Regions from separate parts of the Homo sapiens genome. Here regions 2 and 3 are each linked to region 1. The links are contacts of gene promoters, found by promoter capture Hi-C in human tissues and cell types (Jung and others, 2019). All regions are on one chromosome and are shown on one strand. Each heading gives the region's core, a stretch centred on a gene start or on the middle of the fragment in contact. The rest is flanking DNA. Distances are from core to core; before and after follow the strand shown. Region 1 holds the start of CST7 (cystatin F). Region 2 has its middle 41 kb from the start of GGTLC1. Region 3 has its middle 33 kb from the start of LINC01721.

Evidence for each region. Contacts are between HindIII fragments. The study calls those that stand out against the background at their distance.
Region 2: a fragment that was not itself captured here is called in contact with the fragment with the promoter of CST7 in region 1 in 1 of the 25 tissues and cell types used here (stomach).
Region 3: a contact is called between a fragment that was not itself captured here and the fragment with the promoter of CST7 in region 1, in 3 of the 25 tissues and cell types used here (H1 embryonic stem cells, aorta and stomach).

What each region holds. Positions count from the first base shown.
Region 1 is chr20:24,946,888-24,951,161 of GRCh38, forward strand. It overlaps CST7 (cystatin F), which reads left to right and starts at 2,382. Exons shown (of 4, transcript NM_003650.4): 1 at 2,382-2,688. The coding sequence starts at 2,619. RefSeq lists an enhancer at 2,048-2,097. The HindIII fragment of the contact is 14,192 bases long and covers 1-4,274 here.
Region 2 is chr20:24,027,685-24,031,958 of GRCh38, forward strand. No RefSeq gene overlaps it. Among named protein-coding and RNA genes, the nearest start is that of GGTLC1, 41 kb to the left of the region's middle. The HindIII fragment of the contact is 3,450 bases long and covers 457-3,906 here.
Region 3 is chr20:24,164,585-24,168,858 of GRCh38, forward strand. No RefSeq gene overlaps it. Among named protein-coding and RNA genes, the nearest start is that of LINC01721, 33 kb to the right of the region's middle. RefSeq lists an enhancer at 1-143. The HindIII fragment of the contact is 6,325 bases long and covers 1-4,274 here.

The DNA of each region.
Region 1 (4,274 bases), core at 1,132-3,631:
TCCTATTCAACATAGTGTTGGAAGTTCTGGCCAGGGCAATTAGGCAGGAGAAGGAAATAAAGAGTATTCAAATAGGAAAAGAGGGAGTCAAATTGTCTCTGTTTGCAGATGACATGACTGTATATTTAGAAAACCCCATCATCTCAGCCCAAAATCTCCACAAGCTGATAAGCAACTTCAGCAAAGTCTCAGGATACAAAATCAATGTGCAAAAATCACAAACATTCCTATACACCAATAATAGACAAACAGAGAGTGAAATTATAAGTGAACTCCCATTCACAATTGCTACAAAGAGAATAAAATACCTAGGAATACAACTTACAAGGGATGTGAAGGACCTCTTCAAGGAGAACTACAAACCACTGTTCAAGGAAATAAGAGAGGATACAAATAAATGGAAAAACATTCCATGCTCATGGATAGGAAGAATCAATGTTGTGAAAATGGCCATACTGCCCAAAGTAATTTATAGATTCAGTGATATCCCCCATCAAGCTATCATTGACTTTCTTCACAGAATTGGAAAAAACTACTTTAAAGTTCATAGGGAACCAAAAAAGAGCCTGCATAGCCAAGACAATCCTAAGCAAAAAGAACAAAGCTGGAGGCATCATGCTATCTGACTTCAAACCATACTACAAGCCTACAGTAACCAAAACAGCATGGTACTGGTACCAAAACAGATATATAGACCAATGGAACAGAACAGAAGCCCAGAAATAACACCACACATCAACAACCACCTGATCTTTGACAAACCTGACTAAAACAACCAATGGGGAAAGGATTCCCTATTTAATAAATGGTGTTGGGAAAACTGGCTAGCCATTTGCAGAAAACTGAAACTGGACCCCTTCCTTACACCTTATACAAAAATTAACTCAACATGGATTAAGGACTTAAGACCTAAAACCATAAAAACCCTAGAAGAAAACCTAGGCAGTACCATTCAGGACATAGGCATGGGCAAAGACTTCATGACTAAAACACCAAAAGGAATAGCAACAAAAGCCAAAATTGATAAATGGGACCTAATTAAACTAATGAACTTCCACACAGCAAAAGAAACTGTCATCAGAGTGAACAGGCAACCTACAGAATGGGAGAAAATTTTTGCAATATATCCATTTGACAAAGAGCTAATGTCGAGAATCTACAAGGAACTTAAACAATTGACAAGAAAAAAACAACCCCATCAAAAATTGGGTGAAGGATATGAACAGACACTAAAAAGAAGACATTTATGCAGCCAAGAAACATATGAAAAAACGCTCATCATCACTGGTCATTAGAGAAATGCAAATCAAAACCACAATGAGGTACCATCTCATGCCAGTTAGAATGGTGATCGTTAAAAAGTCAGGAAGCAACAGATGCTGGAGAGGATGTGGAGAAATAGGAACGCTTTTACACTGTTGGTGGGAGTGTAAATTAGTTCAACCATTGTGGAAGACAGTGTGGTGATTCCTCAAGGATCTAGAACCAGAAATACCATTTGACCCAGCAATTTCATTACTGGGTATATACTCAAAAATCATTCTACTATAAAGACACATGCACACGTATGTTTACTGCAGCACTAGTCACAATAGCAAAGACTTGGAACCAACCCAAATGCCCATCAATGGTAGACTGGATAAAGAAAATGTGGCACATATACACCATGGAATACTATGCAGCCATAAAAAAGATGAGTTCATGTCCTTTGCAGGGACATGGATGAAGCTGGAAACCATCATTCTCAGCAAACTAACACAAGAACAGAAAACCAAACACCGCATGTTCTCATTCATAGGTGGGAGTTGAACAATGAGAACACATGGACACAGGGAGGGGAACATCACACACCAAGGACTATCTGGGGATCCGGGGCCAGGGGAGGGATAGCATTTGGAGAAATACCTAATGTAGATGATGGGTTGATGGGTGCAGCAAACCACCATGGCACGTGTATACCTATGTAACAAACCTGCATGTTCTGCACATGTACCCCAGAACTTAAGTAATTAAAAGAAAAAGGAAAATCAAGTGATTTTGCTTTTGAAAATTCCTGCTAATGTTTTTCATGCAACATCTCTTTCGTGTGTGGCTCAGGGGTAGAACATTGCATCAGGATTTGCTCATGGGTCTCATGTCTCTTCCTCCTCCCCCAGCAAATGACGGCTGCTCGGAAACTTTTATAAAGGAAGCGGTTGCTTTGTGGCTGATAGATCTGAAGGTGAAGAGCTTCTGGCCAAAATGATTCAGCAGCAAAACACTCCCCTCCCCAGCACCACGCAGGCAGCCCCCTAGCCCCGCCCCTGCCCCATCCCACAGTGGTTTGCAGGGTGGGGTTCCATGCTGTGGCCCTGGCACCTGCCCCTGGGCTGGGACAGCCCACTGTTCCATGCTGCCCAAGAAGGCTCAGCACAGGCACAAACCATTGCCCGGCACTGGCCCGTGCTGCCTGAGAAGGATTGGCACGGGCACAGACCACTGCCCCCACCTGCCCTGCGCCATCTACCCAAGAAGGCTCGGCACGGGCACCAACCACTGCCTCCAACTGCCCCATGCTGCCTGAGAAGGCACTGCACGGCCACCCCCAACTGCCCCGCACTGTCCCTACCCGGGCAGCCATGCGAGCGGCTGGAACTCTGCTGGCCTTCTGCTGCCTGGTCTTGAGCACCACTGGGGGCCCTTCCCCAGGTAAGTGGCGTTCTCCCCTGTCCGCTCCCCGGGGGTCTCTCCCTGAGATTGGCCACTGGTGCCTTGGGTCTTCCCCAGGGCACTTTCCTAGCTTGGAGCCCCCACAGGACCATGCGGTGGTGAGAGGTGCTGGGAGTGGTGAGAGGGGCAAGGGGCTCCATCTGGCTGCAGCTACCTTTGGGGGTAGCAGGCTACAGGGATGAAGGGTTTGGGGGCTGCCCCAGAAGGCTAGGGGCAAGGGAAGCATCTTCTATTCTCTGGCTCTTCACAGAGGTCTGAGAAAGGTCTAAGTAAGGCAGGTCTCCCGCAGCTCCTCTGCGGGACGGAGGCGACAGGGCAGCCACATGCCTGTGGTTAGCCGCTTCTATCTGATGGCTTGTCATTCCTTCCTGCTGGCTGTTGTCCTGTGACTTGGCTCCAGGGACCCTAACGATCAGACTCTTTCACCCTTCCTGAAATCCACTCCCTGAGGGTCAGCACTCAGGGGGAGGGGGGACAGGGAGGAAAGAGCCACTGCCTGTGCACTGGGAAACTGAGACACAGCCAGGCTAGGTGATTTGCCCAAGTCACACAGCCAGGGACAACCTGCTCTCCCCCAAAGGGAACTGGGCCATGGCCTCCCTGGCACAGGAATCAGACCAGGATACTGATGGGGACTTGGGAGGCCCCCACCTCATTTAACCAACCAGGAAGCTGGCACCAGAGGGCTGAGGTGACCCGCTCAAGTCATATGACCCCCACCCAGCAGACAGGGACAGAAGGGGGCTGGAGCCTGGCCAAAGGGGCCCAGGTGGGGGCTGTGCAGCAGGACCACTGACAAGAGGATGGCTCCAGAGCACCCAAGGGGTTCTTGGAGGGTTCTCACCTCCTCCTGGTGAGTCAGGATACTGAGGACTCAGTGATGCTGGGGGACACTGTGTCGAGCTCCCAGGCCTGGCCTAGGGCGGACGCTGCGACTGAGCAGCCAAGGGGACACGGCAGGCTGGAGGAGGGGCCGGGGGCAGCTTCTGCTCTCACTGATGGGAACATGCCACCGCCACCAGCTCTGGGTAGTGCTCAGCGAACATGGAGCTGACCCATGGCTGGCAGAAGGCTGGGGACAGCATACCCGGCCCTGCCTCCCAGCTTGGGAGCCTTCTTAGCTCACGCAAGGAGCCCTCCACCTGCTTCCCAGCCTCACAGGGGCCTCTCCTCCTGGCCCTGTCCTGATGCAGTGCTGCCTGCCTGCTGCCATTCTGTGCCCTGCCCCTTCGTGTCTCCAAGGTCCAAGGGGGAAGCAGGGAAGAGAGGCAAGTTCACTCCAGAGAAGTGGCTCGTTCTCACACCTCAGAAAAGGCTCTCCTGGAGGGGACATGGAGCCAGCTGTCCTAGCGTGTCCTGGGATCTAATTAAACCTACTGACTGCTGAGGGGTTTCAGAGCTCTGCTCATCTCACGGAGCAGGCTAGGGACTATAACAGGGTGGCGTGGGAGCCGATGTGCTGGGCAGCTGGCAACGTCATTTTCCTGGGTGGTGTTCCCGGCCCCTCGCTGGTATGTAATGCTGCACCAAGCCTTTCCCTCCATTCTCAGCAGACCTGCTGTCAG
Region 2 (4,274 bases), core at 932-3,431, 920 kb before region 1:
GCGTCTGCAGTGATGGTATTCTATTTCACTTTTCTATACAGATCACTGATTGTCTACCTCCACCTACGAAGCAGTCCTTTCCTCCCCCAGGGGCCTGCAGTGCATCTATTTGTGTGAGCCTGTTTTGGGCTTCCTTCTGCTCCATCATCAGCTCATCAGTCCTGAACAAATACCTCTGTAGTCTTCATTACTGCAGCTTAATAGTATCTGGTGTAGTAACTCTCTCTACTTTCTATTTCTTTTTCAGGACTGTCTTTTCCAACCTTACTTTACTCATCCATTAAGTTTTAGAAACCTACAACCACATACACAATGGAAAGCTTGTTGGGGTTTTGGTTGTGATTGCATTTGAGGAGCTTATCGTTACAATATTGAGTGTTCCTACTCATCGTAGCTGGGCTATGGGCTATTTTTCTTTTTTGATATATCTAAAGCATTATAACTTTTTGGAACAAAAGAATAGGATTTCTTGAGTTTAGGCAACCATCTGGAATTAGAAGTCTATTTGCAACAGTGTTTCACAGAGATAAACTCAGGACTCAATACCATAAAGCAAAGTACAGGGAGGAGAGGGGTTGGGGAGAGGACTAAGCTTCAGGTATTTTCTCTGTGTCGGATGCCCCTTGGGTGTCATGCATGCAGTATTTCAATTTATTCCCATGAAACCTCTATCTAACATGTAGCATTTTCTCCATGAAATCAAGACCCAGTTATGTTAAGCAAACTATCAAAGCTCAAACCCTGGTAAAAAGTGACAGGGCTAAGAATTGGAGAAGGCCACTTGGATTTCAAGCCAGGCTTCCCCAATATCATCATGACAAGTGTATTAAAGAAATTCGAAAGATTTTGCCTGGCTTTCTTGAGGTTGATGGATTGGCTTATTGTCTTGGCTAATGCTTTCTATCAAATTTTTAATTATTACAATAAATTTTATTTTTATTATTTATTTATTTATATTTTATTTTTTGAGATGGAGTTCCATTCTTGTTGCCCAGGCTGGGGTGCAATGGCATGACCTCAGCTCACTGCAATTTCTGCCTCCCTGGTTCAAGTGATTCTCCTGCCTCAGCCTCCCGAGTAGCTGGGATTATAGGCGCCCGCCACCATGACTGGCTAATTTTTTGTATCTTTAGTAGAGACGGGTTTTCACCATGTTGACCATACTCGTCTTGAACTCCTGACCTCAGGTGATCCACCTGCCTCAGCCTCTCAAAGTACTAAGATCACAGGCGTGAGCCACCACGCCCGGCCTACAATAAATTTTAGAATAATATCCTGCATAGGCTGATAAAAAGTTTATGACTTTAAAAAGTGTCTATCCACAGGCCAATTTGGCAGAGATCAAGAGATATTTTGTCATCTTTCCATCAGCAGATGTTGGTGAACTTAACACTTGAAGGAATAAAACAGCAACAATGCTGTCAGTTCTGGAGAGGCGCACAAGATGGGCACAGCTGTTGCAATGTTTTGAGAAAGGACATTAGTTTCTTCTTAGTCTCCATCGTCATATTCTTCTTCCATAACCTAGGGGGCAATTTATTACCAGTAGAAATAAATTGCATTGTGTACCAGCTCTGGCTTTGAAGTTTTCATTTTCTGTCTGTGTAATAACATGCTATGATTATGTATGAACTTCTAAATGGGAACAGAGGAGACTTAATTCCATTACATTTCCCTGGAGAAAGGAAGTCTAATTCAGTTCATACACAAGGATTCTTCTTGTTATATAACCGTAGTGTTTGGAGCATTATTTTCAGAGTTGTTGACTGTGGCTTGATGAGATTTTATTTTATGTAGCCAGTCCAGGCTACCAATATTTGACTTAACTTGAGAGGCAATAATACAAAGAATTTTCTTCCTTCTGAACTTGTAAAATGTACCTGACTTTCCTGCCCCAACCGTAGGGGAATATGAATTTAGCTCTGATAAAATTTAGCATCTAAGTTAATTTTGCTCTCTCCTTTCCACAGGCTGAATGTTTTTCTACCAATGCATAAGATCTACCAGCCACAGACAGGCACTGTTTTTAGATGGTCTTGAGGCATCTCATTTTACAAAGGATATAGAAACAGACGGATGCTATATAGAAACTGGTGGAGTGGGGTGGAAGAGAAGACAGAAGACAAGGGTTATAATTTAATCATATAAACTCTGGATGCAATAACCAAGGTCTCCCCAGAAAGCTGTCAGTGTATACTTGTGTGGTGAGTAGATTTCTAATCAGCTCTAGAAGGGTGGCCAAACACAGCTAAACTGTGTCTTTTAGTAGCAGGAAAAGCATCTGCTATAGTTTAGATGTTTGTCCCCCAAACTCCATATTGAAATTTGACCCCCAATATTGGATGGGGGCCTAAGGGGAGGTGTTTGGATCCTGAGGACAGATCCCTCATGAATGTCTTGGTACTGTCCTCACAGTGAAGAGTGAGTTCTCACACTATCAGCTCCCTTGAGAAACTGGTTGTCAAAACAAGCCTGGCACTCCCCATCCCCTCACCACGTGGTCTCTGCACACACGAGCTTCCATTCACTTTTCATCATGTATGGAACCAACCCGAGGACCTCATTGGAAAGAGAGTGGATGCTGGCACCATGCTTCTTGTTCAGCCTGCAGAACTGGGAGACAACATAAACCTCTTTCCTTTATAACTTACCCAGACTTGAGTATTTCTTTGTAGCAATACAAACAGACAAAGCATCTGACAAGCAAGTTGTTCAATGAAGAGATTGTTAGAGCCTGGGGAAGAGTCATCATGTTCAATTGGTACAAGATGCAATTAACTAATATGATTTGGGACAGCTGTCTCCATTGAGGTCACCAGGGTGTCATGGAGTGAAGCTTCAGGAGGAAGAGCTGACTACTTCCTACCCTGGGCTCCATTTTTGTCAGGGCTCTACAGAGAGACAGAACTGACAAGATATAAAGAGAGGAATAAAACAAAAATCCAGATATTTCTATAAATCCGATTATTTGCCAAATTAAATGTGAAAGCTTGCCTCTATCTCTTTCCATTGTGTGCAGATATTTTGCACAGTGTGGATTTGGTCTCTAGGTGTGAGTGTGCCCTGGACACAATGCATAGTAGACAGACATTGTGCTTCGTTGTAGACACTGTGCTAGGCACGTATTACACATTGCCCCAAATCCTTATCACAAACACATCAGGAGTATGATGGCCAAGGAGGAAGCTGTGGCTCAGCCCATTGAGGCTGTATATCCAGGGATCAACAGCCAGTAAGTGGGTGTGCTGACTCCCAAGGCCAAAGCCCACCTACTTGCCAGGTAACTTTCTAGGGATATGAAGGCATTCTATGTTATGATGGTGTGTGTTACATGAGTGTATCTGTCTACCAAAAGTGTGCTTCCATGATTTATGCAATCAGATATGGGATATAATGGTAACTCATGTTTTTACCCAAGGATTTTTTCATCACCATAAAACATCACTTCTACTCAGCTTTATTCTAATGATTTGAGGCAGAGTTTAAAAATCTGTCAAAATTAAATATATTTTTAACAAAGTGAAGACATCTAGACAAACAGACAATGGGGTAGGAAAGATGGAGCTAAAACCAGGGCTGAGTTTCATTCACAGATGGCTCGAGGTCCTACTCAATTACTAGAAATGGGCTAAATATTCACCTCTAAGCTTTCCAATAAGCAACACAGTAGGAACAATATCAACGCAATAGGCCTCAGAGTCCATGAGAAATAAACTAAACAGTTGCTTAGGGAAAGCAGAGCTATTTCTGGTAAGAAATTCAGAGAGAGTTTTCCTTTGAGTCTTCATAAAGAAGACACTCTTCGATGTAGGGCGCAGCATTAACTACATTCTTATGCAAGTTGTAAAGGCTAAATCTCATAAAATATTTTAATATAGGCCATAACACCAAGCAGCAAAAATAGAGAACTAGAGGATGGGGAGATGGAATTTGCTGTGTTTGGAAATTAATACGATTATTGGTTTTCTGTGTTCTCACTTAATCCAGGGTTTTAAGGAATCTAGAGAAAAATCAGGATTGATGTTTTTCATTAGTGCGTTTTCTTACAACTAAAGCTCTTGAACGCTCTGGGTGGTGGGGAGTTTGGGTTGCACTTGGCTTGTGATGAGTTTCCCAGGGAGATGCACTTCTCAGCTGGACCACCTGAGCACACCACCAGGAAAAGCTTTTGGGTAACCCCGGAGGCAGGAAAATTTCCTATGGGTGCTTTATTCAGCTGTAGTCCTATAATCAGCCTTTCACATAATTTGATAGAACTGACCAATGTGAAATGA
Region 3 (4,274 bases), core at 683-3,182, 780 kb before region 1:
TCGTTTCCTTGTTGAATGAAGGGTTAGGATTTCAATATTAGATTCCAGGACACTGAAGGCTTCAGGAAAAGCAAAATAAATGCACTCCTGATAAGTTGCTCCCCACTGAGGGTTGGCTGGGATTATGATTGTCTTACTTTTTTGTGTTTTTCAGCATTTCACAAATAAAGACAAGACAGGATAAAGATAGAAAGTAATTTCCAATATTGCATTTGTATATGTGCTAGTTTTTCTCCCATGTTGAAAGGACTTTGCACAAAGTTGCCCTCCGAGACCAGCTCATGCTTCTAGAACCAACCCTGCCTGGACACCCAGCGAGCACTGCCTGGTTTGGATTTGAGCGCTCACAATTTCCTCTGCCCCAGTTGGGAGATTATAGGCTGTGCAGTTCATAGGAAAGTTTTGATTTCTGATACTTTAATTTTCCTTGAGTTTCAGGAAAACAAATGTGATATGAATGAGTGTTAACATATACCCTTATCGGCACAGTCAGAGAGGTGAAACTCTTGCACGAAGCTTGCCCCATGTGTCAATATTCCATGACTTCAGCTGAATAACTGTGTCTAAAAAACACACAATCAGCCACCATGTCAGCAGAAAACAAAATGCTAATTTTTAGGCTTCCTCACCTCATCTCCTGCTTGCTAGAGATGGAGGAATTAGGGGTGGGGCAGGAAAACAAAGGAGCAACATGTTATAAACTTGGCCTTTTTTCTCTAAGCACAGTCTAGGCCCAAAGCAGACCCAGGGCACAGTTCCTTCCAGGAAGCGTCATCGATGAGAAACTGGACTGTTACTTTCCACCCTGTGACTTTTCACAGGGTGGAGAAGTGAGGACGTTTCAGAATAAGGGAGCTTATTTTGCCTGGAAAAGAAAAGCTTGAGAGGAGATCATTTTTCATTTTGACATTTCCCGGGGATATAGTACTGGCCTGGTATTGTTTCATTTCAGAGCTTGTCTAGAATGGAAAACAAACAAAAGAAATGAACCAAAAAAAAAAAAAATGAAAAGAAGGAAACCAAATAAACTCAGGCCCCAGAGAGAAGATCTGAACCAGGCCTGCAGCATGGTCAGTCTCTGGCCTCCCACACTCACTTCCGTGAGGCTGCCTGCAGGTCCAGCCAATTGGCTTGGGTGCCAAGAACACCCAAAAGAATACTCCAAGGCAGTGTTCTCAAGTTGATCCATCAGGGTAAACAAAGTAATAAAACATGCTTTTATTTTTATCTCAACCTTTTAAATATTTTATTGTAATGCATATTTCACAAGGTATTGAGTACAAGGTATGCAGGGTACAGGAGTTTGTGGCCATCATTTATAAAGCACTAAGTAGACACATGGAGTGTGTTTCATCATAGCAGGATGTGATCAAACAGATTTGAGTCCTTGGTTTGGATGATCACCTATGACAAAGATTCTCTGCTTGACCAAACTTTAGTCAGTTTTCTGAACCTTCTCCTAGGGCTTCTGAACCTTCTCCTACACTTCCTTGTGACATCTGTTTTAGCAATCCCTGCTTTGTCAATTTAGCGAGAACTCCCCGCCCCTGATATCTGATCCCCCTCGGTGATATCTGATCAGGCTCACCATGCTCCACCATCCCCCATGATGACCTATCACCCCGACCTACCTTCAGCAGGAATCCTGTGAGGTGGCTTAGCCAGAATCCCTGTACCCCTAAAGTAGCCTCTTAGTAATTGCCCATCCACTGACCCCTCCCCCTGGTCCTTGGCTATAAATTTCCACTTGCCTATGCTGTTTTCAGAGTTGAGCCCAGTCTCTCTCCCTCGCTGCAAGATCCTTTGCTATTATCCCTGTGCCTGCCATGGCAGTCCCAAACAAAGTCTTCCTTACTGTGCTTTAACTAATGCCATTGGATATTTTTTTCTTTAACACCTGGAAAGTTGTGTGTGGTTTCCAGGGTTTCTCCAGTAGCCTAGAGCCATTTGGAATCACGAGAGTATAAGGTTGCCTCTACTAGGCCTGGCAACAGAGCCTCAAATATAAAAAAAGATAAAGGGATTAGAAAGCCCCAGGAAGCAGGATTACTGCAGGGCATAGGGCCTGGCCTGCGGTGGGCAGGAAGAACCATGGTAATCAACACATTGGTTGAGCAAATATGATTCTCCACCACTAATCCTTCATGCCATCATCTTACAAACAAACAAAAAAACAGGGAATATCAGTAGGATAGCTCTTGGCCATTCGTGATTGGACAGAGCAGCAATGCAAAGTCAAGTCAGTCTGCCTTTGCAACCTTCCCAAGTGCTTTCGGTACCCACTGCCTCATCACTGTCTCCTCCTGGCCCCTGGTGCCTCAGCGCCTGGCCTCCCAGGAATGTGCTTCATATAGCTGGCTTTTGACCCAAGGCCTGGGGTCCTCAAGGAGCCATTCTCCTGGGAGGCAGAGGCTGGGAGAGAAGATCTCTGAGGCCACAGTGTGGCCCTCCATGAAAAGGTTGGCTGCTCTTCTCAGCCTGAAGCCTCTAACCTTTTCCATCACAAGCTCACTCAGCAGTAGCCCTGGCAGGAGGCTGCACCTGGCATTTGAGAGTGAAAGGGAAATAAATGCAACCATGTGCAAGCACAAACACACCAGAAGGAAGCAAGCCTCCCAGGGTGGAAGGAGCCTTTTTGCTGTGAGACAGTAGGGATGGAAGGCTATTTCAGTCTATTTTCTTAACCTGCTGCCATGGACTCACTCCTCTGAAGTCTCCAGCCCACTCCTACATGGATAGGTCACCATGCAGGAATGGCCCTGTCTAGCACCCATCAATCATCAAGACCCCCTCCAATGGCTCATCCCCAGACCTCTCCAGGCGCTTACACCAGCCTCCACGCCCAGAGCACATGGGCCACCCTCCGTTCTTCCACACATGGCTGTTGCGGTGTGTTTCTCACTAGCTGTGTGTATTACAATGGCAGGAGCTTAGTCTTGTTCATCTTCTTACCATCTGGGCCTTGCACGATGTGTGGCACAAGATATGCAGATCCTCAGCCCACATTTGGGGAATGAATGAATTGTCCACACATAACCTCAGAAAATTACTTTAAAATGTTTAGAATAATGACAGAAAGAGCAGCCATGAGGTCAGTGCAAGTTCCAAGTGGGGTGGTCGCCAGGACGGAAAGTCCCAAAGCAATGAGGCTGAGGAAGGGCAGAGCCCTGGTGAATCTGGAGGGGCAAATTTCCACAGCACTTCCCATGCTCCTGCATGTGGCAGCCAAGCTCACAGTGGAAAAATGCGGGGTGTCCTGACTTTCCTCTTCACAAAGTAACTCACAATCATGCTGCTTTTCCTGATGCATACCTCATTTGGGGTTCTAATTTTTTGTGGAGTGTAAGATGTACACAGGAAAGTGCAAAATCCAGAGTGAGCCTGATGTGAACAAAGTGAACGCATTCAGGTTACACCAGAAGGATAAAGGAAAAAAATGATATCAGCTGCTTCAAGTCCCCTTGTGTCTCTTCCAGGAACTGCCCCTCCAAGGGGTATCCTCACTTCTCTCCACAGTGATTAATTTCAACAGTTGATCTTCAAGTCCTATGAACATGGGACTACGCAAATGTGCTCTCTTGTGTTTGGCTTCTTTAGCCCAATAATATATCTACGATTCATGCATTTTGTGTCGTGTGAATGTTGATTGTTCATTCTCATGCTGTCTAGTATTCACTGGCAAATATACTGTTGGCAATTCATTCATTCTCCTATGATGGAGCATTGGGGGTTTTGCATGTTCAGATATCTACAGTCTTCTAGGCACATGTGAACACATCCCTGGTGGGTGTGCATCTAGAAGCAAATTGCTAGTTTGTACATTTCCACTTCATAGACACTGCCAAACATTTAACAAGGTGTGATACCCGTGTTAATTAACCTTAGAGAAATGTCAATTGACTGTACAGAAAGATACATTACCGTTTCTCTGGGACTGCATAAGAATGCCATTACTCCACATTTTTGCCACTCCTTGGTATTTTCCATCGTTTTCATTTTAGCCATTCTAATTATTTTTTACATTAAATTTTATTTTGAAATAATTATAGGTTCACATGCAATTGTAAGAAATAATACAGAGAGATCCTGTGTGTCCTTTACTTAATTTCACTTAAAAGTAGCATCTTGCAAAATGATAGTACAATATTACACGAGGATATTGACATTGATGCGGTCAGGATGCAAGGCATTTCCATCACCCAGGGACCCCTAATGAGGACTTTTTGTATAGCCACATCTACTTCCTTCCATCCCTAGTCCCTCCTCAGCCCTTC